3 separate regions of the Homo sapiens genome follow, and regions 2 and 3 are each linked to region 1. The links are contacts of gene promoters, found by promoter capture Hi-C in blood cells and fetal thymus (Javierre and others, 2016). All regions are on one chromosome and are shown on one strand. Each heading gives the region's core, a stretch centred on a gene start or on the middle of the fragment in contact. The rest is flanking DNA. Distances are from core to core; before and after follow the strand shown. Region 1 holds the start of SECISBP2 (SECIS binding protein 2). Region 2 has its middle 56 kb from the start of NXNL2. Region 3 has its middle 67 kb from the start of MIR4290HG.

Evidence for each region. The method cuts DNA at HindIII sites, captures the fragments that hold promoters and counts their contacts. A CHiCAGO score of 5 or more calls a contact.
Region 2: a fragment that was not itself captured here is called in contact with the fragment with the promoter of SECISBP2 in region 1 in 1 of 17 cell types (M0 macrophages); the score reaches 5.0 in M0 macrophages.
Region 3: a fragment that was not itself captured here is called in contact with the fragment with the promoter of SECISBP2 in region 1 in 3 of 17 cell types (total B cells, naive B cells and fetal thymus); the score reaches 9.1 in total B cells.

What each region holds. Positions count from the first base shown.
Region 1 is chr9:89,315,421-89,319,775 of GRCh38, forward strand. It overlaps SECISBP2 (SECIS binding protein 2), which reads left to right and starts at 3,080. Exons shown (of 17, transcript NM_024077.5): 1 at 3,080-3,192; 2 at 4,232-4,355. The coding sequence starts at 3,157. CKS2 (CDC28 protein kinase regulatory subunit 2) reads left to right here. Exons shown (of 3, transcript NM_001827.3): 3 at 953-1,283. The coding sequence ends at 1,005. RefSeq lists an enhancer at 2,730-2,949 and a silencer at 3,120-3,439. The HindIII fragment of the contact is 8,029 bases long and covers 1-4,355 here.
Region 2 is chr9:88,588,460-88,593,103 of GRCh38, forward strand. No RefSeq gene overlaps it. Among named protein-coding and RNA genes, the nearest start is that of NXNL2, 56 kb to the left of the region's middle. RefSeq lists an enhancer at 939-1,444. The HindIII fragment of the contact is 2,446 bases long and covers 1,118-3,563 here.
Region 3 is chr9:90,106,464-90,111,459 of GRCh38, forward strand. No RefSeq gene overlaps it. Among named protein-coding and RNA genes, the nearest start is that of MIR4290HG, 67 kb to the left of the region's middle. The HindIII fragment of the contact is 6,474 bases long and covers 1-4,996 here.

The DNA.
Region 1 (4,355 bases), core at 1,830-4,329:
TTTTTTTAATGACTAATTTCTTGACTCTGGAGAGAGTTCCAATTTTATGGTAAATAAAATACCACAGCAGTGAAAGTAACACATTATTCTACTTGGAAAATAATGTAAGAAGTAAAAAAAAAAAAAAAAAAATGTATTTTAAAATCTGTATCATTGTTAACAGTATCCCAAAGCATTTTATCATAAGTATATCCTAAGACAAGTGTTCTTATCTATGTGTGGAAATTGATTTAATTTAAAGTGATTCTTCAGCCCTCTGAAAGGATATATACCACATGAAGTTTAAATGAGGTAATAGCATATGAACTCAACTGTGCTTATGGGTACCTTATGCTATTATGTGGTATTAACCAAAAGTTTTTCAGGTGTTAAATAGTAAACTCTACTAAAACTTTGTGGGTTTTCTAGACTAAAACAGTGTGGGTTAAATTTTATATTTGGATTATCAGTAAATCTAACAGCATTTATAATGCTTTGAACAAAATTTGAAGACATACTATAGAAGCTGAAGTAGGTGGAATTAAAACTATCTTCTACTCTGCTGTTAAAGAAAAGCATTGCATCGAAAACTCTAAAAGGACTCATCACTTTCTTGGGATTGAGATACGTAATCCTATTAGAATTCAGTCCAGATAATACAAAAGCAACTGAAGAACTTAAGTGTAGATTTCTGTGCCCCACCTATTGAAACAGAATCTATGGGGATGAGCATTAGTATGAGATCCTGTAGGTGATTTGAAGGAGGTGTTTTTCCCTATAAAGAGGTAATCTTTTTACTTTTAATCTATTTACTGTAGACAGTAACTGTGAAAAAAAAATCATTTTGGATACCTCAAACCAATTAATAGTGGACTTAGTTTATTTTATTCTGGCTTAGTTGAGAATACTTTTGAATTTCTGTTGAGTATATGAAAATCATATTAAAATGATTCAAAACATTTTCTTTCCACAGAACCACATATTCTTCTCTTTAGACGACCTCTTCCAAAAGATCAACAAAAATGAAGTTTATCTGGGGATCGTCAAATCTTTTTCAAATTTAATGTATATGTGTATATAAGGTAGTATTCAGTGAATACTTGAGAAATGTACAAATCTTTCATCCATACCTGTGCATGAGCTGTATTCTTCACAGCAACAGAGCTCAGTTAAATGCAACTGCAAGTAGGTTACTGTAAGATGTTTAAGATAAAAGTTCTTCCAGTCAGTTTTTCTCTTAAGTGCCTGTTTGAGTTTACTGAAACAGTTTACTTTTGTTCAATAAAGTTTGTATGTTGCATTTATCACTGTTTCAAGTTTTTGAGGTATATTTTCTTAATTTGTGACTATTGAAATTTGTGACTATTGAAATTGATTTCAGTGTTATAGTTTTAGCTCTGAGGAAGTTAACTTACCTTAAAGATGATGTTAAATGAGTTTAAAATAGTGCGGTATGATCTGGATACCATTTAATTCACTTAATGAAGAAATTAATTACCAGGGATATGTTTAAACTAAAGCCAAAGTAGATTTTACCTCTTGAATTCCTGGAGAATTGTCTAGAACAGGAAAGCCCAAATTAATACTATCTGGGCTACTTCACTGGCCACTGGTGGTCTTGGGAGAAACCTCTTTTTTATCCTCTTCTACATTTCCAAAGTAGGGATAATGTTTCCTATAAAGTATCACCACATTTTTAAAAGTTCAAAAACACTGTAAAACACCTTTGCCTTTTTAGCTGCTAGGAAAGTGTTTTGGAGTTATTCTAATTAATTGCTATGCTATAGAAACATCTTAAATGAGCAGCCAGCATACATCAGGTCCATTGGTTAAGAAAGGGTGTCTTTACACATGAGGGCAATAAATTTTGAAGGTTGTGATTAGCAGCATCCTAAAATCTACTGCCACTACCATAGGTTGTGTCCAGGGTAACCAACAGAAACATGACAAAATCAAGTAAACTTCATTACACTTCCGGGTAGACCCAATAGTGCTGAAAGGAAGGCGACAGCTACCCCTAAACTTCCAGCATAAATTCCTGCCAGACCAGACCCTAAGGATCACTTCTGCTAGAGGCTGTGTAGTGAACTGAGACCCACCAGGACAGAAATCTGAAAAAACTGGAGCTGCACCTGCCTTACTTGCTTGAAATACTTCGTATTCAATGGTAGAGTTAACGTCTGTGCAAGGGACAGAGGAAACCTACAATTTGCCTCAACCTAATCCCCATTCCTCAAATAGCCTGTTTTGCTGACATTTTCTGTTCCTTAAATCCACTTGCACTTTCCTCCAAGCCTTTGAGTGAGAGGAAAGTTCCTCCTCCATCTATTGAAATCCACTCTGCATTCTTCCCTGTACTTTTGGTCAACCTCCTATCCCTGCCGCACTTTATACATTTCTCTCAATATTTAACGAATTTGCTCTGTGTAGAACTTTTTTTTTCTCGTGAAAATTATACTATTCCATCTCTTGACCATATCTTAGCACTTTTTTTAATTTTTGAAAGAAACCGAGCGATTTTTAAATTATTTTCTGTGGCTACTTCCAAACTTAAGGTTTCTGGAAATTTAGGATACCATCAAGAGTCTTGTAGGCTTTCCAGGTTTGTAGGACCTACAGGGTATGCAATTCCTGTAAGTCACCAATCTTGGGGAAATTTTAGGGAAATGCAGTGGCGGGGGTGAGAGTAATCTCGGCCTCCTCAGTTTCCTTATTAGTAAATCTTTCTCTTCAGGTGACTGCTCAAAGGTCACCTCAGCGAGAGGCCTTTCCAGACTACCCCATCCCGTCCTAACGCTAGACTCGTGAGGCCCAGGGGAGAAAAGTAAATCACGGCCTAACTCTTGTTTATAGTCGCTACTGCCTTGGTGGAGACTATCTCCGATATCCCAGCACTAAAAGGCAGATCCAAGACTCCCGCAAGCTACGGTGGGTCCCCAGCCCAGAGGACTCCTGGGGGTCCCCATTTTCCGCAAGCGCCCCACTGCCTCCACGTGCTGCCCGCGCAGGTCCAGTGCCGCCGCCGCGTACTTCCGGCCGGAAGAAAGGGCGGGCTCTGTCGCTTTGCTGTGACGCACTTCCTGGCGTCGCCTGCGGGGGCGGAAACGCTTTGTCTGTCCGGCAAGCCGACGGCCCGCTGCTGGCCTCCGTGACGCGGCCTCCTCCGCGCCTCGCGGCATGGCGTCGGAGGGGCCGCGGGAGCCCGAAAGCGAGGTAAGGGCCGACGGGGGCTCTCTCGGCAGCCTCAGTCCGTCCGCCTGCCTCGCACTGGGGGCTCGGCCGGGCGGTGACGGGGCTGGTCCAGCGGGCGTGGGTCGGATGCTGGTGACGGCACGGGAGCGCCCTACCGGGTGGCCGCGATCTTCGCGCCCCGCCTCGGGTCCGCCTTGGGGTGGCGGTCAGCGGCTACAGACCCCGCCCACAGTTAGCGCCGCGTCTGTGGTGCGATGTCACCCAGCGCAGTGACTGCGGCCCAGCCCGGCGCTCCCCGCAGTCGGGGCGGGGGGACTCTGGCGAGCTTCCCGCGCTCTTGGGAACGGATAGATTGTTTTAAAGGATCCTGCGTTTTTCTGAACGTCATTCTCCGCTCTACGTACTCAGCATTACCACTAGATGGAGCCCTGGCGATCGCTTGCATCATTTTTAGACCCATAAAATTCTCGGTGAAAGTAAATCTCTTACTACGTCACTAAAAACTAAAGAAAGAAATCTTAGTGAATTGAAATTTCAAAGGCTCGTGGTGATAATATTTTCTAGCAAAGCAAGGTTTGGTATTTCAATAAAGCAAGACTTAGTGGTTCATGAGTAAAATGCATATGCTTTTGTGCAACTTTTTCAAGAAAATGTAATGGAAATAAACGTCTGCAGTGTGTTTTGGGTGCTGTAGTTAAACAGTCCACGTGTATTTGACTGCAGTAGTTGTACTGTGTGCAGTTCTATTATTTCTAAGTGAATCTGTGGTAAAAACACCCTTATTCCAAGATCTAAACTATATAATCTGTGTTGTTTTATTTCCACTTGAATTCGTTGTCATTTTTCACTTTTAATGTTTGAACTACTGCCTTTTCTACAAAAAAAAAAGCATTGGGGAGAAATCGTTAGCAAGCAGGTTCTTGTCTTTACGAGGCAGAAGTTTTTAAACAACATCGGGAACATTTCTGGGGCTATTAGGAACACCTCTTGGGTCTTTTTGTTTGTTTATATTTGCTTGATCTCTGAATGTTTGTGGCCAAAACCTCATATTTTTCCTCAGGGCATCAAGTTATCAGCAGATGTCAAACCATTTGTCCCCAGATTTGCCGGGCTCAATGTGGCATGGTTAGAGTCCTCAGAAGCATGTGTCTTCCCCAGCTCTGCAGCCACATACTATCCGTTTG
Region 2 (4,644 bases), core at 1,091-3,590, 730 kb before region 1:
ACTCTCCAGTGTGATGTCAGTAAGAGGTGGGGCCTGTGGGAGGGGATGAGGTCATGAGGGTGGAGCTCTCGTGAATGGGACTAGTGCCTTCCTGAAAGAGACCCCAGAGAGCTGCCTCACCTCTTCTACCACATAGCGAGAAGGCGCTGTCTCTGAGGAAGGAGCCTTCACCTGGCCAGACAACACGTCTTCTGGTGCCTTGATCTTGGACTTCCCAGCCTGTAGAACTGTGAGAAATAATTTTTTGTTGTTTATAAGCCACCTAGTTTATGGTATTCCATTATAGCCACCCAAATGGATGAAGACAGGAACTAATACCACTCATGGGCTGAGCTTCCCCAAAGGCAAGGCCCTGCCAGGGAGGTTGGTTGGTGGAACGGCAGGAGTGGTGTCAGTCCTGCCTGTTCTCTCCCAACAGCTACGCAGACACACAGAAACTTGTGGATTTCGTGCAGAGGGGCCATGCTCTGTTTTTAAAAATTCTACTATTGATATACTTCAACAGGGTCCAGGTTGTCTCATTACCTCGTCTTTAAAGTCTTCAATAATGAATAAAGTGAATAGGAGCTGGCAGAACAATCCTTACCTCTCTCCTGACTGTGGAGGTCTTGTGGGTGGGAGATGACACATTTCTATACCATCCCTTTTCTGCCCACAGAAAATAGTGGGAAAAGATACCCAAGAACATCACACAAAGGAAAGAGAGATTTGATCTGCCTCTGTCTGCCCTGCTGGGCTGTGGGGCAGGGTGCCCTGGGCCTCAGTGTCTGCTCTATGCATGAGCAGAGAAGGCAACCAGCTGTGGGCAAGGGGAAAATGGACCCTAATTCTGGATTTAGCCACAATAGCTTGTGCTGCCCAGAATTCTCCTTTGCTCATGGCAGATTGTGGTGTGTGTGTCCACGCTGGAACAGTGTGAGCGGAGGGGTGGGGGGTATCATTTTCACTTGGTTCCATGGAGAAACCTCAAGGGAAACTGAACTTGGGCTCCAAATCTTAGTTTGTTCTACCACTCCGTAGCCTTTTCTGTTGACCCCATGTCCTGCTAGGATACTTTTGTGTCCCAGGATTTGCTCTGGTGTGACAAGAGGGCCAGAGTTAAACAGAGGAGCAGAGAAGCTTAAAAACTGGAACGTTCCCAGGGATGGTGCCAAGGTTGGTAAGCAAGGTTGAAAATGGGGCTGTGCACACACAGGGTACAGGGGAGAGGCTCCAGTTTCCTCTTCTCTGCAGGAACTAGAAACCAGCTTTAAATGTGCCCCTTGCCACATGCACACCTGTGATGCCTCCAGAAGTCCCCACTGGCCTGGCCTTGTGTAGGGGTGTGTAGACACGCCTCTCACATACCCTGTCCCCCTGGGGTGAGCCTGGCTGAGGGCAGGGCTGAGCGTGGTGTGGGGCAACCCCAGCATCACCCCTGTTCTAGATGCTTTCAGGGAGGGTGGCCCTGCAGGGATCAGAGGGCTGGCACACACAGGCTCCAGAATCAATGCAAGGCAGTGGGGAAGACCTCTCAAATTTCTTGCGAGCCACCCACTGTGCCCATCTGAGGACAAGGCCCAGCAGGGAGCCACTGGCCCCACTGCCTTGCCTGTGCCCCACTGTACATTGACACTTGGAATAGGGCATGGCTGTCACCTCACTTATTTTTACTATTTCCTCTTGATAGAGGCAGGAGGCAGAGAAACTCTAGACAGACAGGAGTTGGTCCCTGGTGAAGCCCCACTTTCAAGCCAAAAAGCCTGACACCCACGGCTTAAAGTGAGAACTTCCGTCCCTCTTTGCCTACTCTCTCCCTATTAGTTTTTTCTGAGTAATGTGTTTTTTCCATTTGAATGTTGCCTTTTCCAAAACTACTTATGGCCTGCCCCACCCCCCATCCTGTGCTTATAAGGACCCCAGATTTAGCTGGTAGAGAGAAGCAGCTGTACTTCAGAGAGAGGCAACTTGATTTCAGAGGAGGGAGGCAGAGAGGCTGCTTGACTTCAGGGGAGAGTGACCTGTCCTTTCCATCCCCTTTCCAGTTCCACTCTCTGCTGAGAGCCACTCTCATCACTCAATAAAATTTCCACATTCATCATCCTTCAATTTGTTCATGTGACCGCATTCTTCTTGGAACTGGACAAGAATTCAAGACCTACCAAATGTGGGTACCAAAAAGGCTGTCACACTGGCCCTTTGCCCTCACTGGTGGAGGGCAGCTGCCCCACGCAGCGAGACAAAAGGCCCACTGAGCTGATAACACACTGCTGTCTGTGGACAGTAGAACTAAGTATTGCAACATGCCCTCTGGGGCCTTGGGATCGCAGGCGCCCCCACCTGGATGCTGACGCAGGGCCTGCACTGAGTTTTCTCTGCTGGCGCCAAAATGGCCAGCTGGTTCCTGCATTGGCTTGCCTACTCGCTCCCTCTGGCAAGAAATGGAGTGTGGTGGGCTGGAGTAAACCGAGTTTGCTCTTGTCTGCACAGAAGCCAGAATTGGCGGGCTGGTTCCTGCACTGGTTCGCTCATGTGCTCCCTCCTGCGAGGGGTTGAGCATGGTCAGCTGAGTAAAAGGGGCACCCTTCTCGTGAGTCCTGCAAAAGGGTCAAGAAAATATCCTGCCTCACTCTCATCCATGTCCCCTGGAGAGCATGCACCTCCAATGCCGATGCTCTCTTGGGAGCAGGAAGAGGGAAAGTGAATCAGGAATATTGGGTGATTTTAGCCTTTGGTCAGACATACTTTATGGCAAATTTCCACCAAAGAGGCAATTTCAACAAATACAATATTCTGTGGCAGACACTGCTTCTTTCTCTAATTCGCATAACACTAAGAAAACATTTCCCTCTATTAATGGAGATAGGAAAGAGACAGATAATGGATCCACTGGCAAGGCGTGGCTGCCCTCCACACTATTGATTTTTCTAGCCATGAAGTTGTCTCAGGCCAAATGCAGTCAGCTGAGAGGCAGTAATGGAGGGGGAAAGGGTCTATCGTGTGTATATGTAATGCATGCTGCTAAGTTGATGAATCTTTTGGAAGGACTCTGTTTGCTGTGGAAAATAGGCCAGGGTATGCAGGCCATCAACTGCGTGGAAGATTTCATTAGAAACAGAAATTCTCCACTCAATGTGGGCATCGTTTTCTGCCTGCCGACTCTGTGGCTTCCTGGCAAGGCCAGTGAATGAGGACCCTGCAGCAGCTGCGCACATTTCGACAACAGTATTTTGTTGAGTCTCAACACAGAATTCTTTCATTCTTTAACACAAATTCTGAAATTGAGATGGGCCTTACTATTAGCAGCAAAATAGACTTGCTTGGTTCCAGGCAGAGGATGGAGCTCAGAAGCTGTGTCGTTGCTGTGAGGACACGAACGTGCCATACATATGACTGTGGACCAGCTCCCTTCGTGTGGGCAGCGTTGCAACTGGCGGCATTGTAGTTCAACTTTGTGCTCTTTACTTTGACCTAATGTGTCATCACAAAACCCCACTATAAAATTATGTAGCTATACTTTGTTGTAAGTTAAAAATTATATGTTGTACATACAATTTATCTGTTTTTATATAAAATAAAAGTTAAGCTTCACGGAGGAAATTGCCTGCTGTGTTCCAGCCAGGAGAGCTCAAGAACCTCCCTGCGCTTTGCAATGAGTGAGGGGCACCTTATGGTCCACTGAAAAGCAGAGTTTCCAAGTCAGGAACAACTCTCTGTTAAGAAGAGGGCTCACGTTTGAAGGAAACTCATCTAACAGTCACATAGGATAACTGTGACTTAACCAAGTGGCAAATGAGCATGAGGTCCTGGCATTTTTGAGGTATGTTTTGAAATAATTTCTATCCATGTAGGACAGGGTTCTTTTATTTTTTTATTTTATTTTATGTTTTTAGGTTCAGGGAGCATGTATGTGGGTTTGTTACATGGATAAATTGCATGTTGCTGAGGTTTGGGGGTGAGTACTACCATGATATCATCACCCAGGCAGTGAGCATAGTACCTGATAGGTAGTTTTTTGTGTTTTTTTTTTCAACTTTTATTTTAGGTTTAGGGCTGGATTACAAAAAAATCACTGGTGGGTTCTATGCTTAGTACCTGGGTGACAAAATAACCTGTATACCAAACCCCTGTGCACGAGTTTACCTGTATAATGAACCTGCAGCAATGGGCACACAGAGGGGAACAACATGTAGGACAGAGTTCAAACCTTAAGGGATCAGGAGCAGGAGCAAGAGTTGGTAAAAATAAAAATAAAAGTCTACCATCTGCGGCTGGGTGAAAGGTCAGTGGGCCGGGGCATTCCCAAACTATTCAAACTCATTCTCAGGACTCGGCTGCCAGCAGAGGAAGGATATTATTGTCAGTTGTGTGCGTGTTTCAGTGTTGTGTTTTCCCTCTCAACCCCCGAAAAGCTGATCTCAGGAGGAGCTGGGGAGCTCTGGGCTCTCCTAGACCAGTCTGAGGATGCCACATAATACAGAGTTTTGGGCTTTTGGAAAGACACCGAGATGCGCTCTGCGAAGCCTTCTCAGCCCTGATCAGTGGCACATGGAGGACGCTGACCCAGGCAGCACAAGCCTGCCGGCAGCCTCTTTCCATGCAGCGCTGTAATTTCTAAAGAAGGGAATCCGCACGGTGAGACTTGGGTGTATAAGGCATTCTGGG
Region 3 (4,996 bases), core at 1,181-3,680, 790 kb after region 1:
GTGACTTCCTCATTTCAATGACTAATTAAATTGTGAGTATATTTATGTAGAATAAAGTGAAAGGTTCTTAATGTAGTTATATTTAATATGTTACTTCTTCATTAAAGAGCTTCCTCTGAGCCAGGCGTGGTGGCTCATGCCTGTAATCCCAGCACTTTGGGAGGCCGAGGTGGGCGGATCACGAGGTCAGGAGATCGAGACCATCTGGCTAACATGGTAAAAACCCATTTCTACTAAAAATACAAAAAATTAGCCAGGCGTGGTGGCAGGCGCCTGTAGTCCCAGCTAATCGGGAGGCTGAGGCAGGAGAATGACGTGAACCTGGGAAGCGGAGCTTGCAGTGAGCCGAGATCGTGCCACTGCACTCCAGCCTGGGCGACAGAGCAAGACTCTGTCTCAAAAAAAAAAAAAAAAAAAAAGAGCTTCCTCTGAGGAAGTTACCTACTTTTGGTAAAGTGGGTATTTTGAGTGGCATAACTAGCATGAGCAGCATATCAGTGCAAATGCAGTAACACTATGAATTAAAAAGGGAATAAGAAAGGTCTTGTGTTTGATCAAATATTTATCTATTAATGTAGAAATTCTCCTTGGAACCCTGGTTGGTGCTATTGCTTTTAACAGTAATGAAAAGAAAGAAGCAAACCTATCAGAGACTCTCCAAATTCCAAGCAACGGTGATCCCAGAAGCCTTGTTCTCTTCCCAGCTTGCTTTTATTCCGTTAAGTGCCTTTGTGGCCAAGTCACAGTCCTGGCAGCTAATGGCATGACTCATGCAGTGAACACACCTGCTCAGGCTGGATTCGAATCAGGAAATATTGGACACTGTCCTTGGAACTATATTTATAGCAAATGGAAGCTGTCAAAACAAAACTGTTTATTAGCAACATAGCATGGGTCTCCTAGAAAACAAATTTAAAAGTAGTGCTCCTCAGGCCTCTGTTTCTCTTGAAGTAAGAATAACTTCATTCTCAACCAACATGACAAAGATTTCCGTGATAGCACTGGCTAGTCTGATACACCATACTTATTTTTTCCAGTTAACATGTTATTTTTTTTCCAGTTAACATGAACATCTCTATACTCAGCCAAGGAGCTGTAATAACAGAGTTCCATTTGACAACAGAGCTGTCAGTGTGAATACCTTTTGCTTTCTTCTTTTCTCATTTCAGACTCTGGGACTTTGTACACAGCCAGGATTTCAGTTACCATGGGATATTTCCAAATTTAATCTCCAGCCAAAGTGTGGATATTTATGCATATTTCATAATTCAGATAGCTTACTAGACATAACCATTTGGTTTTAACACAGATACCTACGTCCAAAACTTAATTTTTTTTTTATTTCTTTAAACTTGCTTCTTTCTCCATAGTCTCTAGTTTGGTTAGAAACAGCACTACCTAATTAAGCAAGACTTTTAGTAATCATCCTTTCTTCCTCTTCCTCCTTGTCGTTCTCATTTCCACGTGCCCACTAGTTGCACTCTTCCATGCAGACACCTCCTAAACCCTTTGGCATTGGTTTCCCTGCCTCTCTTTCCTAGGCCTGCCATTCCACTAGAGGCTACGCTCTCTCTCACTGGACAATTACAACAACCTACTGCAGTGACTCAGCCCTTGGAACATGGACTCTGGGTTGGTTGGTTTGTGTATAAAAAACCCACTCCCAGGAGAGTCTTTGCTTGTCCTTCTTCCAACTGATCTTCTACTCAGGAAAACTGTTATGTGTATATGACTACTTTGCTGATTTTTATTGTTGTTATTGATGATGACCCGTTTTTGCTCAGGCAGGAAGTCCATCTAGGGAAGCCACTGTCTTTGTGAAAACTTCACACTGCAGCATATGGGACCAGGATCCTGGACACAGCAAATGTCAGCCCCAACCCCCATGTCCCCCAGATCTGTATTTCCAGCATAAACACAGGCTGGTTGGAGGAAACAGGCTGCATTTAGACACATCAAAGGAACTTGAATGCCAGAAAGAAAATAGAGTCCTATGGCTATTAGAGAGGGAAGACATCCAAGAAAATTGTCATCAGAGACTGTATCCAGTTGAGCAAACTCGTCTTTCAACTTAGTAAGGGTAATTACTATGCAAGTGTGTGTACTTACCAAGAATAAAATCTCCAGGGACACAGAGGAGACATTCCGGGTCTTTTGCCCTGGCCCCCTATGGCTGTTTGCACTGTGTCTTCTGTGTTAAAATGTACCTGAAATTTGTCTTCAGCAGGTGTGGTAGGGCAAACAACACAGAAATGACTGATATGGAGGAAGAAGTTTTTGCTCATAGTTCCCTAGAAACAGGAAGCACTCTATGCTGGGCCACATGGGGAGGCACAAGGCTTGGCCAGGAGGCAGAGAGGATAGAGGGAAAAACATGGGAAAGTGCTTTTATTGTGGTTTTCAAAGGAAGAAATGGGCAAGGCAGAGTAAGCAGCCTAGAATTTTCTAGTTTAATTCCCATGAACTCTGAGCATAAGGGATGTCTCTAGTTGTCTGCTGCTGGCCCTGGGATGACTAGGGCAGAGGAACATTGCCTCCTGTAGTATAACAGTCAGACAGAGGAGGTGGTATGGAACATGGGCTCTGGGTTCATTGGTTTGTGTATAAAAAGCCCATTCCCAGGAGAGTCTGCTGTCTGTGAGAACTGGCTGGCCCTGGGAGCAGCAGTCTCTCCCCAGTCATGAGCCCCTATCTTAGTCCATTTTGTGTTGCTATAACAGAATACCACACACAGGGGAATTTATAAAGAATAGAATTTCACTTAGCTAATAATTCTGGTGGCTGGGAAGTCCAAGATCGGGCAGCTGCATCTGCTGAGGGCCTTCTTGCTGCATTATCCCATGGTATCCCATGGTGGAAGGGTGGATGGGCAACTGAGCACTTGCAAAAGAGAACCAGGCCAGACTCACTTGATAACAACCACTCTTGACTAACCACTCCAAAGATTAACCATTCATGAGGGCAGAGCCCTCATGACCCAATCACCTCTGATTAGGCCCCATCTCCCAACACTGTTGCATTGTGAATTAAATTTCCAACACATGAGCTTTTGGGGAACACATTCAAACCATAGCAGTTCCCACCTGTCGAAGTATGATAAAGAAGGAAATAAACAACAGCATTTCCAGGTTTATCTTGGGCTGCTCTGACCAACCCCAGAGAATGATCTGTGAACACACTTGCTTTGTTTGCATCTCAGTGGCTCATGTTTTGTAGCAGAATCTGCTCTTGCCCTGCCGAAATTTTTCAGGCATTATTATTTAGAATGCTCCAGTGACTTCTGACTGCCAGTATCTGTGTATTTGGGCCTTTAGGAATTCTCCAAAGCCAAGTCAAAACTACACTGCCCTTCTAATGAAAGGCCAGGTATGACCATCGCCAATGGGCTGCAGTATATGACTGTATAAATACCCCAGCTCCCTCTCCTCTAGGTGTGTGCTCTTCACCATTTCCCAGTTTCCCTGTGAAATTAGGTTCCAAATGCTCACTTTGCTTGCTAACTTTATGCTGTATGTTTTCTCCAGTTGCCCTTCTTTTCTTCAACATTTTCTCATTTACCTCCCTGTGTTCCCTACAGTCCCATATAAACTACTTGCACATCCTTGTACTGGGATCTGCTTCTAGGGGAGTACAAACTCAATCATGCCCTCCTTTCCCTCTGCCTAGAATGTTGCTCCTTTCTTCTTGACCTGAAGAACTGCTAGAGAGCTTTCAAACTGTATCCAAAAGTGTGACATCTTCAGGAAGTCTTATCTGTTACTTGATGCTGGCTTTCCCACTCCTTTGTCTGTATTCTCACAGCATTTTCTGTATACCATCACTTAATATGTTGTGATTTATTAAATACATTTTTCTCCTTTCTAGGACTGGAAGTTCCATGAAGGACAGCGATTGTCTAATTCTTTTCCTTTGCACCCAAAAGAGCCTGGCACATGGTAAGTGATGTATAAATTCTGGGCAAATGACAGAATCTCTAAAATCAAATATACATTTTTTTACACTTTTCGGAGATTCACTTCTGTCTTAAAATCTGCAATAATTTGCCTCTCTCTGCACCTTACTCTGATTATTTTTATTATAAAAAGATATAAGTTTGGGCACCAAGAGACAAAAATCACCATTATATATTTTTAAATATTGTCTCTTTATTGCTCGCAAACATTGCCAGATGATATGCAAATATTGCCTGATTTTTGGTTACAACCCCTGCCAAAAGGTGAGGATTTTCAATTGTCCAATGGCCCCAGGCCCTTGATCTGGCTGTCTTTACTACTTTGGGGATATGCTATGGCTTGAATGCATGTATCACTCCAAAATTCATATGTTGGAACTTAATTCCCAAGGTGACAATATTAATAGGTGGGGCCCTTGGAGGTGATAAGACCCTGAGGGCTCCACCCCTGTGGATGGGATTAGTGCCCTTATAAAACGGCTTGAGAGAGAGTATTTGTCCCTTTTCTTGATCTGTCCTTCCACCAGGGAAGGACACAGCAACTAGACACCATCTTGAAGTAATATCCCTCAGCAGATATCAAACTGCCAGCATCTTGATCTTGGACTTCCCAGCCTCCAGAACTGAGAAATCAATCTATTGTTTATAAATCATCCCATCTAATGTGTTTTTGTTATAACAGCAAGAAGGGACCAAAGGTAGATGACAGAGCCTATGCTAAAAGTCTTAACACTCCAACCTCATTGAGGACTCTAAGAATTGGCTTTATGAAAACATATAAAAGCAAGCAAGCATCATTTCAAGAGAAAGCAGAGCTTCTAGCAAAGAATTTGCAAATATTCCATGTTCTTATCATCTGCTGTTTATACAAGAACCAGACTTTTGATGTTCCTTTTTCATTCCCAGCAGCTGGTCAATGTGCTGAAGAGAAGGAAAGATAGTCTTTCAGGACTATACGGAGAATTTCGTCAAGGGTCATCCAGGAATGAAAGGCTTCCGGCTTCAGGAAAGAATTTTCTATGGTAGTTTCATCACACACTTTTT